Regions from separate parts of the Homo sapiens genome. Here regions 2 and 3 are each linked to region 1. The links are contacts of gene promoters, found by promoter capture Hi-C in human tissues and cell types (Jung and others, 2019). All regions are on one chromosome and are shown on one strand. Each heading gives the region's core, a stretch centred on a gene start or on the middle of the fragment in contact. The rest is flanking DNA. Distances are from core to core; before and after follow the strand shown.

Region 1 (3,826 bases), core at 361-2,860:
GCACCCCTGCCCAATTCAGGAGTGAGAACTGGGGGCCCCCTTCATGTTTAGTAGGATTTATTCATGTGTCTTCCTAGCTCCTTGGTAGTTCACAAATAGGAATGAAAAGGCAAGGCCTCCTGGCATTGCCTCCTGATGGTGGCCAGGCTTGTGCACGCAAGGATGCCCTCTGATTCTCTAGCTCCCAGACCCAGGAAATGGAGAAGCGTCAAAACAAGAGGGTTTGGGGGATAGGGGCACGCTGAGCTTCCTAGGGTGGGGAAAGAGGTAAAGGCCAGACACTGCTCCAATTTTCAAATAACAGGACAGTCTGCAAGCTCTAGCCAGAAATCCAGCCAGAGAGACAGAATTAAAGAAACTAAACCCAGAATCTCCAGTTGTGTTTACAGCAACAGGATTTAACCCTTTGGGTCCCACTGTCCTTGTATCCTCATGCGCCCTCTTCATCTCTTCTAGAGTGATTCTAAGCTCCCATTAGCCGGTTGGTGTACTGGGAGGAAGGTTGCGGAATTTATGGTGAGATGATTTCTTACATTACCAGGCAGAAGCCTTATTATCCATTTCGACATGCGTGCTTTATGGGGGTGGGAGTGCGTGTGTTCCTCTGTGTGAAAGTGGCTGATGTGGAAGGTGTGTGTGTGTGTTTGCAGGACCTGGGAGGGGAGTCCTCCCAGACAAGCAGGGCTTTCTTCTGCCCACCTGGTTCCAATCCCCCCGCGCCTGCCTCCAATGCATTAGCTCTTTCCAGCCCGGTCTAAACTAGGCAGTTAGAACCACGGTTCCCGGGTTCTTGGAAATTTCAGAGTGATGGAAATGACAGAGAATGTCAGCCAAAGTGTGTGTGTGTGTGAGCCCCTGAAACAGCTGAGGTGGGAATTAGGGGTCGGTAAGGAGCCAGAAATGGCCCCTGCCCCCTGAACCTGGTTCTCAAAACCCCTTAAAACCACCAGATCCTAAAAGCGTCAGGAGACGAGCCCATTAATCTGAGTCCCCACACTCCCGGCTGCAGAGGAAAAAGCAGATGACCGTGTCCAAGGGAGCTGGGACAGGTGAGGTGCAGACCGACTTCCCAGTCCCCTCCCGGCCCGCCGTGCCGCAGCCCAGCCGACGGCTGGCGCGCCAGGGACTCCAGCAGACAGCGCCCCCCGCCGCCCTGTCGCCCAGCTCGGGGCCTCCGGGGATGCGGCCCCCGCGCCACTTACCGCGCGTGCAAGCCCGAGAACAGGCAGAGGAGGAGCAGCAGCTTCGGGGCCATGGTGCCGTGGAGCTCGGGGCGCAGGGTCCGGGGCCTCGGCCGGGCGCGGCTTCCTCCGGCGCGGACCTGGTCTCCGCCGGCCCTCTTTGCCCTGGCTTCCTCCGAGGCTGCTGGCCGCGGCGGGCGGGACAGGTATCTACTCTGGCGCTGGCCGCGCCCCCGCGGGGCGCACACTGGACGCACACGGGACGCCGGGCCACCGCGGCGCGCCGCCCCCACCCGCGCACTAGCGCCGGTCCGCGCAACCGGGCGGCGGGAGCAATGGGCGCCGGGGACCCCCTGGCGCGGCGCCGCCCACCCCGCCTGGAGCCGCGAGCGGGCGCGGGTGCCCAGGCCGGGGCTGTGTGCGCTGTGCTGGGAGGTGGGGGCAGCTGGGCGGCTGTCCCCTGGCAGCGCCTCCGAGGCGGTCCCGGCGGGGAGGAGTTTCCCCAATTACACGCCTGACAACGCGCAGGGCGAGGAAGGCGAGGTTTGAATGGACTCGGAGTTTGAGGCCAGGAAGGGGGCGGAGCTCCGAGGGGGAGGGGAGGCTGGGGATCCCGCAGGGAGCCTGAAGAAAGGTCCCCGGGGTTGGCACCATGAGAGCGAGCCCGCGGTCCGCCTTCCTCCAGCCATTTCTACCCCAGTGCAGGTTTCCTCCAGCGCTCCCTGACCTCCCGTGCCCGCCGTCGCCCGGGGTTGAGACGGTTTGCCAAAAGCAGCCCTTCCATCGCACTCTTCGTGCTAAGTCGGCTGAACTCCTAGGCACTGATAAGATTCTGTGCTTGGAAAGGTGGCTTTCTGCGGGAATATTTGGGAAAAAAGCACCCCAGATTTATGCCTTTCTTACAGAAAAGAGAGACTAACACATAGCAATAAACAGTAGAGGTGGAAAGGCATGTTAAAGGTAGGAGCTAGAAAGATCCTAAGGCAAGAAGCCAAAGACGTTCCGTTTGGTGGAAGCATGAGGTGCGCCTCATTCCATGTATTTTCATATTCCAAAAACCGAAAATGGCATTTACGCTTTCATTTGTCATAATCATTCAGAAAGTTAGTCTTGCACCATGTAAGTATTGCAATCGCAACAGTGTAGTAAATCCACTAGGAATTTTACATTTCTATCACCCCCAAAAAGTTCTTAGAAAATGTTTTATAACTGCTATTCATAGAATTATGTAAGGGTGTGATAACTGTTTCTTTAATATTGTCAAATAGCTTTGTTCGGCCAGGCACAGTGGCCCAAGCCGGTAACCCCGGCACTTTGGGAGTCCGAGGCAGGCGGATCACTTGACCCCAGGAGTTCGAGACCAGCCTAGGCAATGTGCAAAAACCCTGTCTCTACAAAAAATAGTAAAGAATTAGCTGGGCATGGTGGCATGGGCCTGTATTCCTCTGGTGTGTTCCCCCTTGTTTCTGGATAGGCATGAAGTGGAGGGGAGTGCAGTTGTTAATGACAATATTGTTTTTCAACAATGGAGCTGTCATCTCCCTGGCATCACCTTTCTGTCTCTGTGAGGTGCTGAACTCACCCAGCTCCCCGCCTTTCCAGGACTCTTTCTGGCATTCTCATCCTCCTCTGCCCAGCACATCCCTCCTACTTAGGTGCACATGCCCTATAAGGTCCCCTCTTTGATGAAGACTCTGACGCTCCTGCATTCTTCCACTTCCAACACCTGTACCACTCCTTTAGGCTTCAGGGGAATATGAGCCTTTATCATACTCTGCCCTAATCTCTAATTTTCTGTACCAAAATCTGAGCACTTTAAAAATCAGTTAGATGATGATTTATTGTTCCTTCATTGCTTATGTCGTCTCCACATAAGAGACTTGAGTCTCACTCTATCGCCCAGGCTGGAGTGCAGTAGTGTCATCTGGACTCACTGCAATCTCCACCTCCCGGGTTCAAGTGATTCTCGTGCCTCATCCTCCTGAGTAGCTGGGATTACAGGCACCCACCACCACGCCTGGCTAATTTTTGTATTTTTAGTAAAGATGGGGTTTCACCATGTTGGCCAGGCTCTTCTGCAACTCCTGACTTCAAGTAATCTGCTCGCCTCGGCCTCCCAAAGTGCTGAGATTACAGGCATGAGCCACCACGCCTGAGTGTGCTGCAAGAATGCTGCAAGTAGAAACAATTCTTTTGTGTTTCCCTTCTTAACACAGTAATAGGAACATAAGTAAAAATAACCATCTGACATTGATCACATAACAGGGGCCAGGGCCGACAGGAAGGCTTTACATTGATTAACTCATTTTAACTCTCACAACATTATTTCCGTTTCGCATATAGAGAAAAAGCACAGAGAAGTTAAGTCGCTTACCCCAGGATCACACAGCTAGTAGGTGAGGACTGGGGGTTAAAAGCCAGGCAGCTGGCTCCAATGTTTCATTCCTAATCACTATACCATACTGTCTGCCTGAGTAGGTGCTCAGCTGACATTTGTTGTTGGGCTAGTTGATGAAAGTTTTGGACTTCTTACCATATTATTTATTTTTTGAGCATGAGTTAAAATACTCACAAGTTGTTTATAATAGAAATAGACTGTTACTTGAGTGATTTTGTAAAATATCAGTAAACAAGAAGTGTCCTGA
Region 2 (3,826 bases), core at 873-3,372, 400 kb before region 1:
TAATAAATTTGCATGCCATTTTTTCCTATTCATCTGCCTTTTGTCAGTTGATGTTCATCAAGCCTTCCAAGAGCAATGGGGAAGTTTTCCCTTCTCTCCTACAGTTTCCGCCCACTGGAAGTGTCAGGACCTCAGCCAATAATGAACTGAGTTGGAGGACAAACCCTCAGCATCCTCGTCCTCCATCAGGATAACTCTGAGGTGTGGTCCACAACATGGTAACCTGCTCCACACACACCTTGGCGTGGCTGTTTCATTTCCTTATTGTCTACCTTTGCTTCCTTGGTCACCTCCCAGATACACTAGTCAGACTCGGTGCTTGCTACAGGTTCTGCTCTGCACAAACCCACACTTAAACAATAGAAATGCATAGACAATATACAACCAGGGTGTATGGATAAAATGTTAGTTTATGTGTAACAAGAACAAACTTGAAAACAGGCAAATAAAATATTAGATAGATTCCTAAATTTCAAATTGGAAATATATCAATAGAAAATTCACTGGTGCCGTGGTGCATGCCTATAATCCCAGCACTTTAGAAGGCTGAGGCAGGAGGATTGCTTGAGTCCAGGAGTTCGAGACTAGCCTGGGCAACACTGTGAAACAGTTGCTACAAAAAATACAAAAATTAGCCAGGCATGGTGGTGCAAACCTGTAGTCTCAGCTACTCAGGAGGCTGTTGTGGGGGGATCACCTGAGCCTGAGGAGGTCAAGGCTGCAATGAGCCATGTTCTTGCCACTGCACACCAGTCTGGGTGACACACTGAAAAAAAAAAAAAAAAAAAAAAAGAAGAAAAGAAAAGGAAAGAAAATTCTAGGATACATCAGATTGAACTCCTTTTGACAAAGATAATTAGAATTGCATTTATAAAATCATAAGAATTCTTAAAAAACTAAAGAACTTTGGAATCTCCTCTGAGATGAGAAAATAAATAACAAAATAATGAAACATGAAGATATTAGATGGTATTAGAAAGCAGATATTAGATGGTAGCAGATTAATATTACATGGAGATTGTGGCCAACACGTAATAGTGTTTCAGAGAAAAAAAACAAAAAACATCAGCTGACCTGATCAGGAGAACTGATGAGGATTCTCCTTTATTGGTGTTTTCATGATAATTTGAATGTTTATAGATAAAATTATCCATGTTTTAATCATAAATCATCCGGAGAGAAAACTTACTTTCTTGTAATATGAGGGTTAACAAAAACAAACAGCAAAGTAAGCGCCAGAAGTTGCTAAAGGTCAGATTTTCAAAGTAATTTTTTTTTAGTAATTGAATTACCATTAATATAATTAAGTGCTAGTAATATTGATTCAGGGCTTTTTAGAATTGGAAAAGCCCTTTTAATAGACATTGTTAAAACTATTAATTCAACATCCCAAATATAGTGAAGTTACTTGCTAACTTGTAAATTTTTGCCTAGCAGAGATCCAAATAATTTCTGTCTGGCAGAAAAGATAGCCTGGAAGATTGTGGTTTATTTCCCTGTAGGGATTTACTAGGTTTGTATCTAATACAGCAATCTTTTCCCTTAACATATCTTTATTCAATTTTCTACAAATGCCTAGTTCCTTAAATGCTCCTTTAACTGGTATTGTCATTTTACTGAGTTCCTTATTTATTAATGAGTTGATAAAAACACTTGACAGTATTTATTTTATATTCATAAGAATCATCTTAAGTTTTTGAAAATTATAATTTAGAAGCATATAATTCAAGTTCGTTATTTCCTAGGTAGAAATACACTCAGAAAGATTAGGCACCTTTTCCTGATTAAGAGTTGGAGCCCAAGCATCCTAAATCCCAGGCTAGGGTCTCTCTAGTACACGTCACCCTTCTCACTGCATTTTAGTGGCATTTGCGTGCTGTCTCTTTTACAATACTGTAAAGTAGGCAAGGGAAGTCATGAGCATTTTGTAGGTGAAGAAAACTGAACCAGCTGAGAAAATAGCTTGCTGGAGGCCACAGCTGAAGTCATTGCCAAGCAATGTAGCTGAGAAGAAGAAAGCTCACCACCCTATGGCTAATGCCTAAAAAGAGTTCACAGGTACAGTGACAACCACTCAAGGTACAGTGTTCTGGGACTGGGAGAGAGACAGAGGCACCAGGAGGGAAGTGAGTATGAAGAGGCCAGGGAAGTATTCAAAGAGGAGACAGAGTTTGAGCTGGACCATTGAAACAGGCACAATGACAGTAACTCTTTAAATTTAGTGGTGGACTTAAGTTTTAAGAAGGGGACTAAAGCCAGGCACGGTGGCCTAGTACTTCGGAAGGCCAAGGCAAGAGGATCACTTGAAACCAGGAGTTTGAGAACAGCTTGGGCAGCAAAACGAGGCCCCATCTCTATAAAAAATAAAAAATGATTTGGACCTGGTGGCATGTGCCTGTAATCCCAGGTACTTGGGAGGCTGAGGTGAGAGGATTGCTTGACTCCAGGAGTTTGAGACTGCAGTAAGCTATGACTGCTCCACTGCATTCCAGCCTGGGTGACTGAGCGAGACCCTGTTTCTAAAAACTAAATAAATAAATAAATAAATACAAAAAGTTTAAATGAAAATCAAAGTGTTCTATGGCTGTAAGCAGCTCCTTCTTGTAAATAATGTGCAGTTGTTTATCAAACTAGGTTATACTGATAAAACAGACGCAAAACACATACAAGTATTATCTTTAGCCCCATCTAAACTCCTGATATTATTTCAAATATTGGTTTTTCCTAAAATTAAAAATGAAGTCAGAATAATAGTGATATATATATATCTCATATGAAACATACATGGCTTAAAGCTTAATGCTGAGTTAATACTTAAGTATAATTTTGTGCAATACGTGAGGTTTTTATTAACTTAATAAAATATTACTAATTATGTTCTAAGCCAATTAAAGCAATTAATACTGAACAGTATTAATTACAGTAAAAGCAATTAAAGCCCACATCGAAGTGATATTTACTAGGACTATTTCTTGTTGTTTTACAAAAAGATCCAGCATGTCACTTTGTTTTTAACCTATCTAAATGAATTAACATTATCAAATTGTATGTTGCCCATCACGTCTATGTTCTAATTTTAAATAGTATGATACTTTTGAATATTTAGTGTTATTTTGTGTTTTCTAAAATATGTTTATATAAAATATTAATATATGTGAGATGATGAATTCATTATAATTGTTTGCACAGAACTGAGATTTAGGGAACTAGATCACCCCTTTCTAATCCTTTTGTCCTCCTCACATATACAGACTTGGATGCAAACAAGAAAAGTCAGAATCCATAGAAACGAGTTGCCTTTACAGCTTGTCTGTGGCAGCCAATTAGTAAAAGCCTTGGAAGATCATTTAACCTTAACTACAAATGGTGCCCTTGTATTGTGATTTGCATTATTAACTAGATATGGCCACCTTCAATACCACAAACTACAAGGAGAGAGAGAAGCAGTTATAAAAAGGGTTAGATTTTCCTTCTATCAAAATAGATTCCTGCTTCTAAATAATCTTCTTTTTACAGAATGTGATCAGGAATTTCCTTTATGAATTTATATGCATCGCCTCACCAAGGCTGAAAGAGATTAGTGACACATTCACAACTGGGGAACTGCAGACAGGCTGGGAAAACATGACATACAATTCAGAAAAAAAAATGTTCACTGTCTCAGGGAAAAGAGAGGAAGAAAAATTGTGGCATATTCTATCGATGGTTGCTAATTTAGTTGGGGAGCAAACATGTTCAGAGAGTGTGGTCTAAACAGCATACCTTTTTTTTTTCCACAAAATGTTGTTTCTAATTCTGGTAGGAGTTTCCAACAATGGAACTTGGT
Region 3 (3,826 bases), core at 581-3,080, 380 kb before region 1:
GAGCGGGTACTAGTTTACACAAAGAATCTGGGAAGACTTCTTGGATATGGTTACTTTGAAGCCAAGATCTGGAGAATGATTGAAAACTACGCACATACTGGCTGGGCACCACGGCTCACCCCTGTAATCCCAGCACTTTGAGAGGTGAGGTGGGTGGATCACTTAAGGTCAGGAGTTCGAGACCAGCCTGGCCAACACGGCAAAACCCTATCTCTAATAAAAATATGAAAATTAGCCAGATGTGGTGGTGCACACCTGTAGTCTCAGCTACTCGGGAGGCTGAGGTAGGAGAATTGCTTGAACCCCGGAGGCAGGGGTTGCAGTGAGCTGAGATCGTGCCATTGCACTCCAGCCTGGGCAACAGAGCGAAACTCCATCTCAAAAATAAATAAATAAATAAATAAATAAATAAATAGAAAGAAAGAAAACTATGCACACATCTATGGGAAGAGGATTTCACCGGTGTAAGAGAAGAGCTGCTGCAGGGTCCTGAGGCAGGCATGCCCAGCAAGTGTAGGACACACATGCGCCCTGTGGCTGAGCCTATGCAGGAGCAAGCAGAGTGGCTAGGCAGGTACTGGGAAGCCTTGGGGCCATGGTTAGGACTGGCCTTTTGTTCCCAGTGAGATGGAGATTGGTTACAGGAACACAGCTGACCAGTGTGTCTACTCTGATGAGAACAGTGTGTAGGTGCCCAGGTAGGGGCAAGAGGGAACTGCCAGGGTCCCTACAAAGACAGTGAGGGAGGGAAGGAAAAACATCAAGGACAATTCTCAGGTCTGCAAAGGAGGAGTTTTTGTGTAATAAAAAGGGAAAAGAACATGAAGGAACACAGAAGTCGGGAGGTTTGTAGACGTCACACTTCAAATACCTAACACCCAACCATCAAACGATCCACTCGCTTTCAATGGCTCATTGTCAGCAATCGTGATGATAAGATAATGCAGATGCAATGACTTACCAAGTGAGCATGTGCTGGAGTCTTATTTTACGCCCCCCATAGTCCTATGAGTTAGGTGTTGCTATACCTGGGCCCCATATTGCACCCTCCACCTTGCGCTATATCACCCCATGCATCTGCGTGAAACGTGGCATATGGGGAAGACACTGAGCTCCTTTCTCAAGCACAATCCTAGGGACCAATAACCAAGACCGATATCACCCAACGGTTTGGTATGTGGCTGCTGCCTTGGCAGGGGGCTTCCTTGGCCTGCCTCCCCGGGGCAGTGTGGGGTGGTGTGAGCGCCTGTCCCACAGGTCGGACAGAAATAGCACCTGAACAGCAGGCGGCACAGTTCCTCATCCAGACACACTGCCGGCCCCTGTGTTCTCATTCCTAGGATCCAATTCTCGAATCTTTTTCGTACTAATTAGAAGACTATCAATCTGCTTGGCTCACCCTGGATTTACATCTTGTGGGATTTCCTGGGTTATTTTTCTAAGCTTCAGCTAACGGAATAAGAGAAATTGGCAGAGATCCCACCCCATCACCCCTTGAAGTGTGCGGGGGATAATCGTGCTCTCCCTGGGTCCTCTTCCTCTCACTATGGGTCTGGATTTACGCTGTGAACAGTGAGCGCGAGACGGAGATTAGCTGAACGGTCTGGCAGAATCCCTACACTGCCACGCAGTCTTAAAAGGATCCAAGATACACACAAACACACACACCATACACAAACACACACACCATACACAAACACACAATACACACATCATACATACACACACACCATACATACACACATCATACACACACATGCACCATACACACACACACGATACACACATACCATACACACACACACTATACACGCATACACCATAAACCCACACATCATATATACACACACACACCATACACACACATTATACAGACATACACCATACACACACGATAAACACACACCATACACACACAAACACACACACACTATACATACATACACCATACACACACATCATACATACGCACACACCATACACAAACACACCATACAAACACACACACTATACACACATACACCATAAACACACACATCATATATACAGACACCATACACACAAACACACACTATACAAACACCATAAACACACTCATACATACACACATATATATACACACACACACAAATACCCCATACACACACACAGACCATACACACAAACACACACAAATACCCCATACACACACACAGACCATACACACAAACACATACCATACACACACATACCATACACACACAAACGCCATACACACACACCATACACACATACACCATACACACACAAACACCATACACACACCAACACACACACAAACACACCATACACACATACCAACACACACACACCATACACACACCATACAAACATACACACACAAACACACACACCATATACACACACACCATACACACATACACACACACAAACACTATACACACATATACCATACACACACACCATACACACACAAAGGCACTCACACATACACACATATACCATACACACACACACCATACACATACACCATACACACAAACACACCATACACACAACATATACACACAAACACACACACCATACACACAAACACCATACACACAAACACACACACCATACACGCACAAACACCATACACACAAACATACCATACATACACACAAATACACCATACGCACATGCACCATACACACACACCATACTCAAACACACGCACCATACACACACACCATACACACACACCATACACACACTATACACACACATACCATACACACACACACACCATATGCACATACACCATACACACAAACACATCATACACACCATACACACAAGTAAATGCATTCACACACCATACACACACAAACACACACCATATGCACACACAGCATACACACACGATACACACACACAAACACACATGATACACACACACAAACACACACGACACACACACACCATTCACAAGGACAAATACATGGCTGCCTGGCTTGATAAAGGGCTGTGGAGACCCTTTGTCAGCCCAGGCCACAAAGCCTGTCTGTCCTCACCTCAGCACTCGCCCCAGGCCAGTGCCAGGTGTCTGCCAGGTCTGGGGCTGTCTTCCTCCCCCATGGCTCTGGGGACTTCCTCACCAGGCTCTCTCCCTCTCCTGGGCCCATCATGCACCGTCCATCCTCCAGCGCTGGCCCTGGTGGTGTTGATGCGCTGGACTCCCTCCAGACTCCCTCCAGACTCCCTGGACGTAGAGAGGAGGGGGTTTCCACACACATCTGGTCATCTGTGGGTAACTGCTCTCCCACGCCTTCGCCATCTGTCCTACCTGCAACTGCACTGCGAACTCCCTGAGGACAGAAGGCTTCTGCTTATACTGAATGTGTCCATTTTTATTTACTGATATCCATTTGAAAAAACAAAGAAACAATTGGAAAATATCGAGTTGATTTTGAACTTTTAATTCAATGGTTCCTCCCAGTGTTGAGTAGTGAGAACACGCGATGAGAAGTCAGAAAATGTGATTTCCCAATTCACAGCAACCACCAGCCAGCTCTGTGGGCCCCATGGAGGCAAATGCAACCTCTCTGAGCCTTCATTTCCCCACGAATGGAAGCGAGTCTCCGAGGAGGTGATCTGTAAGACACCATCAAGCTTGAAACTTTTAAACGTCAGCGATATGCATGAAGAGACAATCTGAAGGCCAAGATGGTGGCTGGGAAAGTGAGCAGGGAAGAAAAACGTGATAAGAGTGACAATTTATCTAAATTAGAGATTTTGTGTGTATAAAGGGGAAAACTGCAACCCTAACCTGGTAATCTTTTGG

What was found. The method cuts DNA at HindIII sites, captures the fragments that hold promoters and counts their contacts. A contact is called where the count stands out against the background at its distance.
Region 2: a contact is called between a fragment that was not itself captured here and the fragment with the promoter of GABRG3 in region 1, in 1 of the 25 tissues and cell types used here (dorsolateral prefrontal cortex).
Region 3: a contact is called between a fragment that was not itself captured here and the fragment with the promoter of GABRG3 in region 1, in 1 of the 25 tissues and cell types used here (dorsolateral prefrontal cortex).

The regions. Positions count from the first base shown.
Region 1 is chr15:26,968,965-26,972,790 of GRCh38, reverse strand. GABRG3 (gamma-aminobutyric acid type A receptor subunit gamma3) reads right to left here and starts at 1,610. Exons shown (of 10, transcript NM_033223.5): 1 at 1,203-1,610. The coding sequence starts at 1,255. The HindIII fragment of the contact is 15,270 bases long and covers 1-3,826 here.
Region 2 is chr15:27,371,105-27,374,930 of GRCh38, reverse strand. The region is part of intron 5 of GABRG3 (gamma-aminobutyric acid type A receptor subunit gamma3); the gene reads right to left. Among named protein-coding and RNA genes, the nearest start is that of GABRG3-AS1, 210 kb to the right of the region's middle. The HindIII fragment of the contact is 4,328 bases long and covers 1-3,826 here.
Region 3 is chr15:27,350,016-27,353,841 of GRCh38, reverse strand. All of the region lies in intron 5 of GABRG3 (gamma-aminobutyric acid type A receptor subunit gamma3), which reads right to left. Among named protein-coding and RNA genes, the nearest start is that of GABRG3-AS1, 190 kb to the right of the region's middle. The HindIII fragment of the contact is 6,669 bases long and covers 1-3,826 here.